Regions from separate parts of the Homo sapiens genome. Here regions 2 and 3 are each linked to region 1. The links are contacts of gene promoters, found by promoter capture Hi-C in blood cells and fetal thymus (Javierre and others, 2016). All regions are on one chromosome and are shown on one strand. Each heading gives the region's core, a stretch centred on a gene start or on the middle of the fragment in contact. The rest is flanking DNA. Distances are from core to core; before and after follow the strand shown.

Region 1 (3,668 bases), core at 331-2,830:
CAGACCGCAGCCTCCCCAGACCTCTTTCTGGGGGGAGGGCGAGCACTTCTACCTCACCCCTGCACTAGTCCCGTGAGGATGAAAACCAAAAGCACTCAGAGGGCTTCTCCACCCCTATTTTGAGGTCACTGACCACAGAGGCAGGATGGTGGTCCCCAACAGGCTACACCCCAGCCCCAGAGGCCTCCCAGTCTGGAGATGGACTCCCTGCCCTCTCTCATCTTGGAGCAGTGAGCGCTAGGGACAGTCCTGGCCTGAGCCTCCCGGGCAGCCTGGCCTCCTTTCAAGCAGGCCAAGTGCACAGATGCTGCCTGCACCTGCACAGCCACCCGCCGTCGACAGGAGAGCAGAGGTACCGGGTCTGCTCCCATCACAGAGAGGAACGGGCTCCCCGGCCCGGCCCTGGGCTGGTCGGCAACCCCCACTCCCCACCCTGCCTGCTCAAAAGAAAGGATCCTCCTGCCTCCAGCCCCCTCCACCCCCTCTCCAGGACCTTCCTGACCGTGCGCTGGGCCTGTGCAGGTGTTGAGCCACACCCACACCATCCCAGGGGGCGGGGTCTCGAAGGGGAGAACAGGTGCCACAGTCAACAGGAGGGAGGGCTTCTGGCCGAGGTGGCAAGGAGGCTCCAGGAGGCGGCAGCGTTGACCTTGGGTGTTGAGGGATGATGAGAAGGAGTTCTGTAGGAAGGAAGGTGCTCCAGGCAGGGGGCCTCGGGGAACAAGGGGATGCTGGAGGAGGTGCGTGGACTGGGGGAATTGGGGGTGTCCTACGAGCCACGCTGGTATCAGAGGCGTGTGAACCAGAGCAGTTCCATACTGAATAAGAGCTGGGCAAAATGAGGTCGCGAGGAGGTGCGTGGAAGGCGGGCCTAGCGTTCAGTGGGATGCGGGGAGGCGCAGGAGACGCAGCCAGAGAGGCGAGGGGCCCAAGGAAGTGCTCAAGAGGTGTCCCCCGGCAGGGACTACAATGCAGATTCCCTGGAGCAGGGGCGAGCCGGGCCCAAGGAGCAGGAAATGAAGAAGCCAGGAATCCCAGCTGGTCCCTGACCCGGACGCACCCACCCTGCCTTCCCCACAGCCTGGCCTCTGGCTCTGCTCCCAACGCAGCAAGCCGGGGTATCTCCGACCTAGCCCTGGCCCTGCCCGCCGGAACCCCGCAAAAGCTATCACTCAGCCCTCGGCCCCGCCCCGGCCCCACCCCGGCCCCACCCCGCACTCTCACAAGGTGTCACTCAGCCCTCGGCCCCGCCCCGCCCGCCCCATCCTCCTCTGGCTCCGCCCCACCAGCCTCGTGCGGTCACCGCCCCGCCGGCGCACCTGCGCTGTCACTCAGCCCTCGGCCCCGGCCCCGCCCCGCCTGCCCCACTCGCACACGGGCTATCACTCAGCCTGCGCCCCGCCCTAGCTCGCCAGAGGCTCCGCCCCACCCGCCTGCCAACACGCTGTCACTCAGCCTTAGCCCTGCCCAGGCCGGCCCTCGGCCCGTCAGAGGCCTCCTTCGTGCTGTCACTCAGCCCTTGCCCCGCCCCCTCCCCGCCCCCCTCACACGTGCTGTCTCTGTCTCTGGCCCTGGCCCGCCCCGCGCACTTGCGCTGTCACTCAGCCTGGACGCGCTTCTTCGGGTCGCGGGTGCACTCCGGCCCGGCTCCCGCCTCGGCCCCGATGGACGCCGCGTTCCTCCTCGTCCTCGGGCTGTTGGCCCAGGTAAGGCATCGGCACCTGCGGGGGTCCCCGCTGCCTCCCTCGACGCTGCGGGACAGTGTCTTCAACTGCAGCCGCACAGGTCTCCCCCAGAACCACTGGCCCTGGTCGCCTTTGGGGGCCTGTGAGCGGAGTGGCTCCGGGTGGGTCCCTGGGCTGGGGGCAGCACCCCAGGGGTTGTGGGGAGTGAGTGTAACCAAACACTCCATCTGGTGGAATCACCCCCAGGACTGCAGAGTGCTGCTGGGGTCAGGGACCCCAGGCAGGGGCCACCCAGGTAGCCGTGCCCTCTCTTTGGAGGAACCGCTGCCGGGGTCTGGGGGTTGCCAGTCTTGAGTGGAGCAGAGAGAGGGGGGAGCGGCAGGAGTGCCCCTCTCTGGGGGGCTGGGGGCCAGGTTTCTATAGGGACTCCCTGCGGTGGGCACAGGACCCCTGGCTAGTCTTGGGTTTTGTCCAAACCCCCCACCCCAAGTTCCTGGCCAGCAGGGGTGGCTGCAGGCCCTGCCCCCAGGAACTCACCCTCACGGCTACTTCTCGATTGGGAGGGCCCAGCCCGAGCCAGGTCGCAACACACGGCCTTGCAGAGTGGCGTGTGGCAGCCCTGGGGGCTCTGTTCCTGGGCTTCACCTGGGACCCTGCCGCAGCTGCCTGGGGTGATCAGGCCTGGGGGCCCAGCCCCCAGAGGCTGCTGGACTCTGCCCCTAAAAATCTTGTCTGGACTGCTGGCACCGTGGTCTCTCCAACGTGGGAGCAAGCCAGAGTGGAAGGAAGCCCAGGCCTCAGCCCCCCACACCCGACATGGGTACTGCCTAGCTGGAGCCACGTCTCCTCACACCCTAGGGGGACCTAGACATGGAGGATGTGGCCTCAGTGGCTTCAGCCCCCAGGGACTGGGCTGGGCTGGGGCATGGCCGGCTGTGGTTGGGACGTCACTGGGTACAAGAGGGCAGCCTCTCTCTGGCCAATTCGAGAGAGAATGCACATAAAGGGCTTAGCGGTGCTCACAGTATTCATTGCTCTTGTGGTCCTGGGGTGGTCAGGGAGTGCTGGACACAGTGAGTAAGGGAAGCCACTCCTTTCCCAGCCCCCACTGAAGGGGCTTCCTGAGTCCCCTCATTCCCACAGGCCTCCCAGCTCCAGCTGGCTCCAATTTCAGCCCCTGGCAGCTGACCAGGCGCCTGGCCAGCCAGACCCTCCAGCAGCTGCCCCTGAGGGCACCACGGCTCCTGCCACCCCCGACTCCCCCATCTGGAGACAGTGGTGGGGGGAGACAGTGGCTCAGCATGCGTGCTCACCCCCCGGCCCTCCACCCCTCAGCCCTCTGCCGGGGAGCGCAGGCTGGGGGGCTCCATGCCTCCAGGGCCCTTCCCCACCTGCTCTGGGGACAGGGTTTCTTCCCTGGCACCCCAACCCAGGGCATGGTGGTGGGGAGGCTGGCGCCTGTGAAAACATTCCTCCAGACCTCTTCCTTTGGATTTGGGAGTGTCTGCCTTTCAAAAGGCCCCAGGGGGCTCTGTGGCAGGTGGGGAGGCAGGCAGGACCTCTCCCTCCTCAGAAGCCTTCCCTCTCACTGTCCCTTCTTTTCTCGCCCAGGGCTGGGGGACAATAACCCCCTCCCCCGACAGCTGGAGGCTGGGGGAGGTGGTGGAGGTGGGGGCCAGATGGCAAGGGGACTATCGCCAAGGCTCAAATTCACTCCACTGTGAGGCAAAATATGTCAGTGTCAGGACCCTGCCTGCCCCTCCCCCAGCAGCTCAGCTTTCAGGACTGTGAGCTCTCCTGGGCAGCCTTGGGGTCCTGGGCCGCCTCCTGGTGAGCCCCCAGGCAGGCAGCGTGGGCCCATCAGGGCCTTCTACAAGTGAGGGGTTGCTCCCCTGCTCGGGCCACCTCTGATTGCTGAGCTCACTCAGCCCCACCCGGAGGGTGTCTTCAGAACTGGCCCCTCTCAGCCCTGCTGCACCTACA
Region 2 (3,668 bases), core at 528-3,027, 730 kb before region 1:
AGGGACTGCCAGGAGTGAGCCCTGCCCCTGTCCACTCACCGCTCCTCCTGTGGGGCCTGAAACCACCGTTTGGCTGGAGACCCAGGATGTGGACGGCCCCCGCCTGGCCACCAGGTGGCAGCATTCGCCCAGCCAGGGGGTCCAGCCTCCACCTGGGCAGGGCGGCCGCCTGCAGCCTCCAGAGGCACCGCACCTGCCGACCCCACACCCACTTGACCTGCAAACCACCCACGTGCACACCCGGCACCTCCACACACTAAAGGGGACAGACAGGCGGGAATCCCTCGACTGCACACGTGCACACAGCACAGCCTCACCCCTGCGGACACCTGGGCATTCAGACGCATGCCCACAGGCACACACGCATGCACGCACGCACGCACACACGCCTACTCGGCCCCCGGGGTGCACTCAGGTGCCTGCCAGTCGCTCACACAGCCACAGGAGAGAGTGCTGCGGAGTCCCTGCAGGGTTCCCTGAAGGACAGGTGTTTGAGCTGGGAGCAGAGGAGCACTGGGCGTGAGCTGTGCAGGCCCTGTGGGGACCCCTGCAGAGGGAGTGGACACTGAGGCCCGGCCCTGTGCACAGCCAGGGTCACTGTCCACACCAGCCCTCCCCCTGGGCACAGTCAGGGTCACCGTCCACACCAACCCTCCCCCTGGGCACAGTCAGGGTCACCGTCCACACCAACCATCCCCCTGGGCACAGTCAGGGTCACCGTCTACACCAACCCTCCCCCTGGGCACAGTCAGGGTCACCGTCTACACCAACCCTCCCCCTGGGCACAGTCAGGGTCACCGTCCACACCAACTCTCCCAACCTGGGGACTCTGTCTCTCCCACCCAGGATTCTGAGGCCCAGTTTGCCCCAAGACTGCAGAGTCCCTCTGTGGCCAGAACCCCCAATGGGCTGCCCTGAAGCAGCAGGGGGAGGCAGGGAGGCTATGAGTATGCAGAGAGCTCCCATAGACAGCGGCGTTATTTCCCATCATCCACGTCTAGATTCCAAGGCCGCTGGGGAAGTGGGGTAGGAGAGAAGTGGGTGCCCTGGGCCAGGCTGAGGAGACAGAGGGGGCAGGCAGCCGTGGAGGAGACGCAGGCAGGGGAGCACATGCCAGGTGCCCTTGGGTCTCAGCCTGTGGGGCGAGGAAGCAGAGGGAGGGTAGGAGGGTGCCAGTGGTGAGTGGCAGGCCTGGCTTCATCCCCACACCCCACCGCACAGAGAGGAGGTATGCAGGGCAGGGTCAGGGGTTCCGCGGGATGGGGGCACACCCTCCTACCCTCCTCAGGGAACAGTTTACCGGGACGGTTTACTGGGAAACTCATTATTGAAAGCAGGCTCTCCTACACGCTCCTACACCTTGAAGCATCTGCTCTCCTGAGAAGATGTGTGGATGGCCAGGTTCACGCAGTGGGGAGAGGGGGATGGAGAGGGCCGGCCCCGGGGAAGGGGCTGTGTCCCAGTGACTTTGGGGCGGCTAATGTGGGGATTCCTTGAAACACCCCAGAGGTGATGGGACTTGGAGGCCCTGGAGCCCATGGGGAGCTCAGTCCTGCCCGTGTCCTCTGTCCACGTGCCACGTATGGGCCACAGAGATGCAGCTGAAGTTGGGGGCTCCAGCCCCAGTGTCTCCCCCTCCCAGCGCAAGGACAACAAGCAGGTCACGCCAGGTTCCAGCTGGGAAGCAGCGGGAGGCAGTTCCCAATTCTGGGTGGATCGCAGCCCCAGGACAGCCACGCTGAGGCCCAGGGGTGTCTGTCTTTCCAGGCCTGCCCTGGCCTGGGTCCCAAGCCCACGGCCCCTTTCCCCAATGCAGTGTCTGTCTCACTGACCAGCCGCGTGGCTGTGAGGAGAGGAGGCAGAGCTGGTCCTCCCCAAGGCCCGGGGCATGGCAGGGAGGTGAACACACTGCCCCTTGGCCTGCACTGCCCGAGAGAACCCCAGGCCTGCTTCTGGGCCCAAGGAGAGGGCAGATGTGTTCTGCCAGCACCAGGAGGTACCCAGGAGCAGCAGAGCACTGAGCTGGGGGCCAGAGGCCTCAGGCTGGTCACCAGCAACCCCCGACCGGGCCTCAGTTCTTCCATCTGTTAAATGGACGAAGTGACCAGCAACATCCTTTCCAGCCCTGGCTCCCAGCAGCTCCCTCTGAGAGCTCAATTCCAGGCAAGGAGCCGCGGTTCCCTGCGCCCGGCTGGATTTCACACTGCAGGCTCAGTTTCCCCTGTCTGTAAAACGGGCTCCATGAGACCTCCCGGGACTGTGGTGAGAAGGAGACGGCGTTTGTGAACTGCTGGCCTCACGCCAGGCAGTGGCGCTCTCTCTGTGAGGAGAGACGCACACGCTGCGGCTGGCGCCTTCCACACTGACCTGGGCCCCTGCGGCGAGGCTTGCGGAGTCAAAGTCATGCGGTGCTTCCTCGCCCCCCAGGGCCTGGCGCGGCTGGGGCCCTGCCCCTCTCCGACTCCGTCTCCCACCCTCTGTCTCGGTCATCTCTGGCTGCATGAAAAGCCACCCCGGCACTCAGTGGCTCGGAACAACAATCGCGTCTTTTGCTCACAAATCTACCATTTGGGCAGGGCTGGGTGGGCACAGCTCGTCTGCTGCCCGAGGCACCTGCTGGGGCTGGCGTCTCCGAGTGAGCTTCCACCCAACATGGTGATTGAGTTCCAACATCGAGGGTCCCGAAAGACGAGACCCAGACGCCGCCGGCCTCTCGAGGGCTGGGCTGGGAGCCGAAGTGGCGTGGCTTCCCGCACATCCTTCCGGCCAAGCAGTCACGGAGCCAAAATCCAAGACGGGGCCTGGGTCTCCCTGCCCGCACGGAGGTGTGTCACAGATCCGGGGGCCATGTTTTAAAACCATCACCGTTGCCCTCTGGCCACAAATTATTTGTATTCCACCCAGATGCAGGGCACACTCACCCCTCCAAAAGTCTCCCCAAAAGTCTCACCGTGTCTCAGCGTCAGGCTCAGGCCCGGGGCCCTGACATTTAGATAGGGCCAGGTGTGGCTGAGGCCATCGAGTCATTCCTCCGGTGAAGTATGCCCGTGCGTCGGGGTGCAGGGCACGGGGTGTAGGACAAATGCTACCAATGCCCCTGTCGGGAACTGGGAGGAGGGTGGCACATGTCCGTCACTGCCACAGGCGGTTCCGAAGCCCGGGCCCTGCCCCGTACAGTGACTGTGCTGTTAGCCCGGCCACCTGGGGCCTGGCTCTGCACTGGCGTGTCCTCTCCTCGAGGCGGCTGAGTCTGCCGTTCGGGGACCTCCCTCGCTCCCCTGCCTGGTGTCCTCTCCTCGAGGCGGCCGAGTCTGCCGTTCAGGGACCTCCCTCGCTCCCCTGCCTGGTGAAGGTCATGGGGTCCCGGGCCTCTTCACCCTCTGTGTTGTCTCCGCCTCCTTCCATCTCATCTCATGGTGCATCCACCAGAGCAAGGCCCCTTCGACCTTCATGGACAGACCCTTCTCCACTCTGCCAGCCGTGGCTGCTGTGTGGCCGAGCTCTTCCGATTCTGGAGGCCGATGTCCAGATGCAGCAACAGGGTCTTCCTGGGGCCAGACACGCAGTCTTGCAGCCACACCTTGGACCAGCTCCTCACTCTGAGGCCAGGGCTTCCTCCGAGCATCTTTCTCAGCGAGAGAGACTGGAAACGCGTGGCAGTTTTCTTT
Region 3 (3,668 bases), core at 870-3,369, 530 kb before region 1:
CTGGGCCCTACATCCAACAACCAGTGTCCTTATAAACCACAGAAGAGGAAAAGGCGGGTGCAGCAGAGAGGCCACGGGAGGAGCCGCCAGCCCGGGAAACTGAGGGCTGGAAGAGCCTCCAGGAGGACCCAGCCCTGAACACGCCCAGCTCCACGGCCTCGTGGAATAAACTTCTCCCATTTCACACCCCCCAGTTTGTGGTGCATGGTTAGCACAGCCCTAGGAAACCAGCACGGATAGTGAGCTCCCCGTCACAGGAGGTATGCAAGCAGAGGGTGGGTGGGCAGGGGCACTGTCGGGAGGAGCAGCCCTGGGGACTCCAGCAATCTGTCTTTGATTCCTCCCAGACTGTTAACCCTGGGGCACAGCCTCCTTCACCCCCAGAGGCCCACAGCAGACAAGCTGAGAGCCACACAGCGGCCAAGAGGAGGTGCTGGAGGGCCCAGGGGTCCCAGTGCTGCCTCAGCCCCACCCGACTTGGGAGCTTTTGTGTTCAGAGAGACTGAGGTTTTCAGCTTAGAGGACACCTCCGTGGAACACATCTGCACCGCGGCAGGGGAGGAAAGGCTGGGGGCACACAAGCACCCTCCCTCCCGCCCTCACCCCGAAGCTGAGGGGACCAGGGCGGACAGATTCCCCCACCTCTGATGTGGCCAGGGGCCCTGGGGACTCCAGGACAACCCTCCTCAGGATGACGTCAAACCCCCGGCATTCAAACCTTCCCAAGTTCTGGCTGCAGCTGTCCCTTTCCGGGGAAACAAAGGCACCTCCAGCGCCCCCACCCCCAGCCAGCCTCACCGATCAAGGAGGCCAAAGGCAGCTCCCGGCCCCGCTTACATAAAGCTTCCTGTGTGTGCTGGTCACACCTCACACCTCACGCCTCACGCCTCATGCCTCATTCACACCTCACACCTCACTCCTCACACCTCCAACTCAGACTTTTTAGCTTGAACTTTTTTCTCAATAAAACCACAGAAGCCCAGGCCGGGTGCAGTGACTCATGCCTGTGATCCCAGCACTTTGCGAGGCCGAGGTGGGCAGATCACGAGGTCAGGAGATCGAGACCATCCTGGCTAACATGGTGAAACCCCGTCTCTACTAAAAATACAAAAAAATTAGCCAGGTGTGGTGGCGGGCGCCTGTAGTCCCAGCTACCCGGCAGGCTGAGGCAGGAGAATGGCGTGAACCCAGGAAGCTGAGCTTGTAGTGAGCCGAGATCGCACCACTGTACTCCCCGCCTGGGCGACAGAGTCAGACTCCGCCTCAAAAAAACAACAAAAAAAAAAACAACACAGAAACCCAACAGAGACCTGAAGACGTGCCTGCCTCCCCCATCTCCGGGACCTCTCCCACCTGGGTGAAGGGGGCACGTGAGCCTCACCTGATCTTGACCATCTCAGCTAAAACACTGAACCACCCTTGGCACCCACCAGCAGCAGACGGAGAAGAACTGTATAGGGTGCAAAAGCGCCCCGCCACCATCAGGTCCAGATGAAAACCTACAAGTTGAATCAGCAAGGTGCTGACGGATACGCAAGCAGAAACCCTCTTATAGGAGGTTCAAGGCTGGGCGCAGTGGCTCACTCCTGTAATCCCAGCACTTTGGGAGGCCAAGGCGAGCAGATCACTTGAGGTCAGGAGCCTCAGACCAGCCTGGCCGATATGGCAAAACCCTGTCTGTACTAAAAATACAAAAATTAGCCAGGCATGGTGGGGGGTGCCTGTAATCCCAGCTACTCGGAAGCCTGAGGCAGGAGAATCGCTTGAACCTGGGATGTGGAGGTTGCAGTGAGCTGGGACAGCACCATTTCCCTCCAGCTCGGGTGACAGCAAGACCCTGTCTCAAAAAAAAAAAAAAAGTTTGAGAATGTCAGACAAGGCAGCACCCTGTGTAGGTGCTCAGGTTGGGCGGAGTCTCTCTCGGGGGAGGGGGGTAACAGGACAGCGCCTCCCGGGGCCTCCTTGCATGTCTGTGTCCTGATGCACAGCAGGCGGGGGCTGCGGGGACCAGAGAAGGAAGAAGCGCCCCAGCTGGGCACTTCCCGAGGAGGAAGTGGTGCCGGAATTTCCCCCAGGTGTGGCCTCAGGTATAAGAGCGGCTGCTGCCAGGTGCATGGCCAGGTGCACCTGTGGGATTGCCGCCAGGTGTGCAGGCCGCTCCAAGCCCAGCCTGCCCCGCTGCCGCCACCATGACGGTGAGCCTCTCCACATGCCGCTCGGATGGATGCTGCTTGGATGTGCAGCCTGGCATGGAAGGGCTGGGGTTCTCTGAGCCTGGGAGGAGGGTGTTGGGATGGGGTCTGGGAAACCCCTCAGTCTGGGGGTAGGGGAGGCAGCTGCAGATCCTCGGAGCGCTGGCATGCTGGGTGTCTTGGGCTGAAGGGCTAGCCTCTCTGGGCTTCAGTTTCCCCATCTATAGAGGGAGGGCTGTACTCCATCTTTCCGCTGGGAACAAGGAAAGCTGAGGTGGAAGTGAGGTGCCCCCTGCCCTGGGCACCTCCTAACCACCCACCTGCCTGTTTCACCAGCTCCTCCCCGGCCTCCTGTTTCTGACCTGGCTGCACACATGCCTGGCCCACCATGACCCCTCCCTCAGGGGGCACCCCCACAGTCACGGTACCCCACACTGCTACTCGGCTGAGGAACTGCCCCTCGGCCAGGCCCCCCCACACCTGCTGGCTCGAGGTGCCAAGTGGGGGCAGGCTTTGCCTGTAGCCCTGGTGTCCAGCCTGGAGGCAGCAAGCCACAGGGGGAGGCACGAGAGGCCCTCAGCTACGACCCAGTGCCCGGTGCTGCGGCCGGAGGAGGTGTTGGAGGCAGACACCCACCAGCGCTCCATCTCACCCTGGAGATACCGGTGAGGACCTGGGGATTCCGCTGTGGCGTGGGGCTGCCCCTCCCCTGGCGGGGCCCTGACTGCCCGGAGAGCTCTCTGGGCCTTGGTGGTTCTCACCTGTCAAGTGGGCGTGGCCACCTGAGCTCCCTCCCTCCGGCCCTCCTGACCTGGACGGCTGAGCTGCTGCTTGCGGCTGGCCGTGCCCTGCCTCCCACTGTCCTAGGTGGCCAGGGTCCCCTGGGGAAATTCTGGGCCCGTCACCTGAGCTCCTGCAGAAGTGGGGCTGGGTGATGAAGTGGAAGGGAGGCTCCTAGAGGCCTCCGGACCCTGCTCTGTGCTCTTGGAGGGCCCTGGGGAGACGTGGATTACCACCACATGTGAGCCCGACTGCACCCCAAGCCCGTGTGGCTCAGCCCTCGCTGCCTCAGGTCCTATCCTGAGTACACGGAGAGGGGCCCTGAGGGGAGAGGGGCCTCCAGGAGGACAGGGTAGGGCCAGAGACTCACTGTGCACCCCGTCCCGCAGTGTGGACACGGATGAGGACCGCTATCCACAGAAGCTGGCCTTCGCCGAGTGCCTGTGCAGAGGCTGTATCGATGCACGGACGGGCCGCGAGACAGCTGCGCTCAACTCCGTGCGGCTGCTCCAGAGCCTGCTGGTGCTGCGCCGCCGGCCCTGCTCCCGCGACGGCTCGGGGCTCCCCACACCTGGGGCCTTTGCCTTCCACACCGAGTTCATCCACGTCCCCGTCGGCTGCACCTGCGTGCTGCCCCGTTCAGTGTGACCGCCGAGGCCGTGGGGCCCCTAGACTGGACACGTGTGCTCCCCAGAG

The links. Contacts are between HindIII fragments. The CHiCAGO score rates a contact against its expected background, and 5 or more counts as called.
Region 2: a contact is called between a fragment that was not itself captured here and the fragment with the promoter of CDH15 in region 1, in 1 of 17 cell types (total CD4 T cells). The highest score is 7.3, in total CD4 T cells.
Region 3: the fragment with the promoter of IL17C here is called in contact with the fragment with the promoter of CDH15 in region 1 in 1 of 17 cell types (neutrophils); the score reaches 5.1 in neutrophils.

Annotation. Positions count from the first base shown.
Region 1 is chr16:89,170,168-89,173,835 of GRCh38, forward strand. CDH15 (cadherin 15) reads left to right here and starts at 1,581. Exons shown (of 14, transcript NM_004933.3): 1 at 1,581-1,706. The coding sequence starts at 1,665. RefSeq lists a silencer at 1,017-1,656. The HindIII fragment of the contact is 9,317 bases long and covers 1-3,668 here.
Region 2 is chr16:88,443,075-88,446,742 of GRCh38, forward strand. No RefSeq gene overlaps it. Among named protein-coding and RNA genes, the nearest start is that of ZFPM1, 8.4 kb to the right of the region's middle. RefSeq lists an enhancer at 49-914. The HindIII fragment of the contact is 6,767 bases long and covers 1-3,668 here.
Region 3 is chr16:88,636,453-88,640,120 of GRCh38, forward strand. It overlaps IL17C (interleukin 17C), which reads left to right and starts at 2,120. Exons shown (of 3, transcript NM_013278.4): 1 at 2,120-2,195; 2 at 2,529-2,857; 3 at 3,362-3,668. The coding sequence starts at 2,190. The coding sequence ends at 3,620. LOC124903755 (a long non-coding RNA gene) reads left to right here. Exons shown (of 2, transcript XR_007065181.1): 1 at 1-260; 2 at 348-982. The HindIII fragment of the contact is 4,920 bases long and covers 842-3,668 here.